2 separate regions of the Homo sapiens genome follow, and region 2 is linked to region 1. Evidence: promoter capture Hi-C in human tissues and cell types (Jung and others, 2019). All regions are on one chromosome and are shown on one strand. The core of a region is centred on a gene start or on the middle of the fragment in contact, and the rest is flanking DNA. Distances in the headings are between cores, read along the strand shown. Region 1 holds the start of POU3F1 (POU class 3 homeobox 1). Region 2 has its middle 93 kb from the start of LINC01685.

The links. Contacts are between HindIII fragments. The study calls those that stand out against the background at their distance.
Region 2: a contact is called between a fragment that was not itself captured here and the fragment with the promoter of POU3F1 in region 1, in 1 of the 25 tissues and cell types used here (spleen).

What each region holds. Positions count from the first base shown.
Region 1 is chr1:38,045,523-38,048,222 of GRCh38, reverse strand. POU3F1 (POU class 3 homeobox 1) reads left to right here and starts at 1,430. Exons shown (of 1, transcript NM_002699.4): 1 at 1,430-2,700. The coding sequence starts at 1,480. It overlaps MIR3659HG (MIR3659 host gene), which reads right to left and starts at 1,089. Exons shown (of 5, transcript NR_168386.1): 1 at 609-1,089. RefSeq lists enhancers at 126-626, 627-1,127 and a silencer at 1,040-1,369. The HindIII fragment of the contact is 7,503 bases long and covers 1-2,700 here.
Region 2 is chr1:38,566,719-38,569,418 of GRCh38, reverse strand. No RefSeq gene overlaps it. Among named protein-coding and RNA genes, the nearest start is that of LINC01685, 93 kb to the right of the region's middle. RefSeq lists an enhancer at 426-1,033. The HindIII fragment of the contact is 7,584 bases long and covers 1-2,700 here.

The sequences.
Region 1 (2,700 bases), core at 181-2,680:
CCTCGGTGTGGGGAAGAGGAGAAAACACAGCTCAGTACCCTCAGCCTGGGGCCCAAGGTCGGGTAAGAAGGCACAAAGGAACTGCAGTGAGGTCCGACTCCACTCAAGATCCTTCAGGGAGTCCTCAAGGGCTGGGGCGTGAGGAGGTAGCTAAATTCCACTGCCCACCTTTCCAACAAGGCCTCCTCAATCTCAATTCCCTTTTCAGCAGCTCCAGGCAAGTCCGGGCAAACTCTAGCCCAGGGCTCTTAGCGAGGCTGGACAGCTCCCGGCCTGCACGCCGGATTTCTGGAGAGCCCGAGCCCCTTCCCTGAGCCCATCCTTCTCCTCTCCCGGGGCGTGATCCCACCACGACCACAGCCGATGAGCCGTTCAAGCTGGGAGAAGGAGCGAGAAGGCTGCAGCGGCGCAGGTCAGATACCCCTGGGCCCAACGTCCACCCCCAACTAGCGCCCTTGCCAGCAGCGTTTTCCCCGGAGCCACAGTCTCCACCTCGAGATCTTCTCCTTCTGGAACCCCGGAGCGCGGCCGGGTACCAGGGGCTCGCGTAGGACTGTAGAACCGCTGCCGCCCGCCGTCCCAGCCCCAGCTGCCCGCGCGGTACTCACCTGGGCCTCAGTGCCCGGGAGAAGGTGTGCCCGCGCGAGGCGTGAAGCCAGAGTCCGTCCGACTCCGCCCGCACCGGACGCGCTCTCAGGGCAGAGGAGGTCGGCGGAGTTGTGACGCTGGGACTAGAGGAAGGAGAAGGAAAGCCGAGACGGGCCGGGCAGACGCGCCGAGGAGCGCCCAGTGCACGCTGGCAGCCGCGGGAGGCGAGGCGGGCGCGGTGAGCAGTCGCGCCGGAACCGAGCCGCGAATCCGCGCCGCCTCGCGCTCGCAGCCGCCAGGACCCGCGGGAATCCTGGTCCGCCGGCAGCGGTACTGAGGAGGGAGGGGCGCGGGGCTGAGCCGCTTCTCGGAGCCCGAGCGCCTCCCGGAGCCGGCAATCCCTGCTGCCCGGGCGGGATGCGGGCGGGAATTCAGCTCGCGTGGAATGTGGGACCGGCCGGGCTCGGAGTCTCCAGCGCTGGGGGAAAGCGGGGCCCACACAGCCAGGACGAGAGGGGGTGCGGTCCCAGGGCCACCCCCGCGCCACTCCCCACGTGGCGGCCGCGCCCCCGGGGCGTGAGTGTGTACGCGGACGGTAGGGGGGCCGTGAATGAAGCCCCAGCGGCCAATCAGCACGGCCGGCGCGCGGGACCCCGGGAGCGACGCCCAATGGAGAGCTCTGGGCGGCCGGGCAGGGTGGCGGGCGGGCGCGCGGGGCGGGGGCCGGGCAGGGGAGGCGGGAGGCAGCTCCGCGGGCAGCCAATGGGCGGCGGGCGGGGTGGGGCTCCGGAGCGCCGAGCGGGTCGGGGCTTTAAGCCGGCGGAGCGAGGCGGCGGGGCCCGCAGACGGAGCGGAGCGGCGGCGGCGGCGCGGCGCAGGGCGCGGGGCGGCATGGCCACCACCGCGCAGTACCTGCCGCGGGGCCCCGGTGGCGGAGCCGGGGGCACCGGGCCGCTTATGCACCCGGACGCCGCGGCGGCGGCGGCGGCGGCGGCGGCCGCGGAGCGATTGCATGCAGGGGCCGCGTACCGCGAAGTGCAGAAGCTGATGCACCACGAGTGGCTGGGCGCGGGCGCGGGCCACCCCGTGGGCCTAGCGCACCCCCAGTGGCTACCCACGGGAGGAGGCGGCGGCGGCGATTGGGCCGGCGGCCCGCACCTAGAACACGGCAAGGCAGGCGGCGGCGGCACCGGCCGAGCCGACGACGGCGGCGGCGGCGGAGGTTTCCACGCGCGCCTGGTGCACCAGGGGGCGGCCCACGCGGGCGCGGCATGGGCGCAGGGCAGCACAGCGCACCACTTGGGCCCGGCCATGTCGCCCTCGCCCGGGGCCAGCGGGGGCCACCAGCCCCAGCCGCTCGGGCTGTACGCGCAGGCGGCCTACCCGGGGGGCGGCGGCGGCGGCCTGGCCGGGATGCTGGCGGCGGGCGGTGGCGGCGCGGGGCCGGGCCTGCACCACGCGCTGCACGAGGATGGCCACGAGGCGCAGCTGGAGCCGTCGCCGCCGCCGCATCTGGGCGCCCACGGACACGCACACGGACATGCACACGCGGGCGGCCTGCACGCGGCGGCGGCGCACCTGCACCCGGGCGCGGGCGGCGGCGGCTCATCGGTGGGCGAGCACTCGGACGAGGATGCGCCCAGCTCGGACGACCTGGAGCAGTTCGCCAAGCAGTTCAAGCAGCGGCGCATCAAGCTGGGCTTTACGCAGGCCGACGTGGGGCTGGCGCTGGGCACGCTCTACGGTAACGTGTTCTCGCAGACCACCATCTGCCGCTTCGAGGCCCTGCAGCTGAGCTTCAAGAACATGTGCAAGCTCAAGCCGCTGCTCAACAAGTGGCTGGAGGAGACCGACTCGTCCAGCGGCAGCCCCACCAACCTGGACAAGATCGCGGCGCAGGGCCGCAAGCGCAAGAAGCGCACGTCCATCGAGGTGGGGGTCAAAGGCGCGCTCGAGAGCCACTTTCTCAAGTGCCCCAAGCCCTCGGCGCACGAGATCACCGGCTTGGCAGACAGCCTGCAGCTGGAGAAGGAGGTGGTGCGCGTCTGGTTCTGCAACCGGCGGCAGAAGGAGAAGCGCATGACCCCTGCGGCCGGCGCGGGCCACCCGCCC
Region 2 (2,700 bases), core at 150-2,649, 520 kb before region 1:
GGGCTGGGACTGGGGCCCATAACTGTCCAGCACCCAAAGTCCACAGGATGCTAGAGGGAGGGGAAGCGAGACGGCAGAGGTGTGTGGAGATGTCAGGGGGAGAGGCTCCTCTGGTTTGTGTTTGAGGTCTGAGGTATGTGTCTTCTGAGTACACTGTGAGGTGTATCCCTGTGTGCACCCTGTGGAATGCTCCATGTGTGCTGGCTGTGTGTTTTGAACACATGCATGTAGAATGAATGTGGAGGGTGCTGAGTGTGTCTGTGTCTGTGGGCAGGCCCTGCGAGGGGCAGAAAGCAGCCCTCCTCGACGGAGTGCTGTGCCTCGTATCAGGTGCTCCACATTCCGATCCTTAACTGCCCCAGGTTTCACTGGTCATCAGGTCGTAATGCCACCCTTCCACCATCACAGCCCTGAATGCACCCTCGCGCTCCCACCTGCCCTTTCACGATCTCACCCTCTTACTTCTGGAAGCCCTCTGGGGTGTCTTTTGTGAGGCGGGTAATTGTTCTCTGATGTTCTGCTTCTCCAAACTCCTCCAGGAATATCTGCAGCCTGGAACTGGCAGAGGCTGCTGGGCCCCCGCAAGATTGCTAGAATTCACCCTGAGGGAAGTGCCCTGGTGTGCAGACCCACAAGCAGCACCAGATTCCATGCTGCACGAGGGCAGGGCTGCATCTCCGGCTCACCACTCAACCTCAGCACCAAGCACAGGCCTGGGAACATAATAGCTGCTCAATAAATAGATGCTTTATATTTCCTGGAAATGCCACTGCCTTAAACCATCCTGTGTCACATTTTGTAACTTGGTGTGTGAAAATGGCTCTTCACCTTCATTCTGCCTGCTGCTTAGTCCCTCAACAGGGATCAGATGCCAGACAGCCCCAAAGACCAAGATCTGAGACCAATGTCTTGTTTACCTTCCCATTCCTATAGTCAAAACCTTATGCAAATTTGCTCCTTGTAGAGCTGCCCACCAATTCACTAATACATTACTAATGGCTAATAATTCATGGCAAACATTTACTAAGCACTGGTCAAGTTCCAGACACTGTGCTAAGCTGTTAATGTGAGTGATGGCTTTTCAGTGCAAAGCAGCCCCGCGAGTTAGGCACTGTTTTTATCTCCATTTTACTGGTGAGGAATCTGAAGCTCAGAGATGTCAAGTAAACTTCCCAGAGTCACACAGCAGGTGAATAAGTGCAGGATCTGGGAGTTGAACCCAGGTGGTCTGACTTGCTTTTGACCACTGTATAGCATTAGCTTCAGATCACTCTGAATTCCAGCTAAATGAGGCCTGAGTGAAGAATCTTGATACTCATAGGTCATTAGCTTCATGTAAAAAAAAAAAAAAAAACAAAAAACAACCAAAAAAAAAAACCTTTGATGTATTATCCTGGTTTTACAGAGGAGGAAACTGAGCTCAGAGCAGTTAAGTAACTGCCAGCAGTCACACAACTATTAAAGAGGCTGAGCTAGGATTGGAACCCAGATCTGCTAGGCCCAAAGCCTCATTTCCCATGCTGTGCCATCCTCTGGAGGAGTGGAGATGGTCCTTGGCCACAAGGAAATGGGTGAAAAGTAAGGAAGGGGACCTGCCAATTAAAGATATGCAGTTTGGAGGTGGGTACCAGGGTCTCGGAAGAAAATATAGAAATCCAAGCATCCTGAGAGACCTCGGCAAAGGGGGCAGGTGACCTGTCATATATAAGGGGGCATTCAGAGTTGCCGATGCCCACATCACAGGCATGTTTTGCACTTTGGCCCTTCAGCAGGGAGTTCCTAAATTCTTTCCACATTACACGCTCCCATGGGATAAGAAGTCACTAGGACACTGTCCACAGGCATCTCTTTGTCCTGGGAGGGGTAGAGCCTCCACACTAACTGGATGGTCATTATAAACAGAATATGGCATCTCTATCTAGAGATAGCATGTGATCAAATAAAAAAGGAAAAAAAAGGTTTTGACTCGTACAAATCCAGGCCCTGCTGTTCATTAGCTGTGTGATGGTGGGCCAGGCACACGCCTCTGAGCCTCGGTTTCCTGGTGCATAAAATGGGGATATTAAGGCTTTCCCTTCCCACCTAGCAGGGCTGGTGGCGGTTGTGGGGGGCAGCAGTGGAGGGTGTGGAGGCCTTTGCTCTTGTTGCTGTGCAAATGTGTGCCACTGGATGCACCAGAATGTGAAGAATCCAGCCGGGTGCCGTGGCTCACGCCTGTAATACCAGTACTTTGGGAGGTTGAAGCAGGTGGATAACCTGAGGTCAGGAGTTCAAGACCAGCCTGGCCAACATGGTGAAACTCCATCTCTATTAAAAATACAAAAATTAGCCGGGCATGGTGGCAGATGCCTGTAGTCCCAGCTACTCAGGAGGCTGAGGCAGGAGAATCGTTTGAACCTGGGAGGCAGAGGTTGCAGTGAGCCAAGATCACGCCATTGCAACCCAGCCTGGACAACAAGAACAAAACTCCATCTCAAAAAAAAAAAAGTGAAGAATCTGGTCAGGGAAGGCAGCTTAGCAGAGGAAGGGAGTGGAGAAGGCATGGAAAGACATTTCTCAAAGGAATACAATCTACGGGGTCAGGTCAACATGGAAGTCCTCTCTCTAGCCTGTGCTGAATCCAGCAGTACAGAGCTTCTGTATCAGAAGGTAGAGATGTTTTTGTGTCCCAAGATGAGCCATTTTCATCACTCATTCATT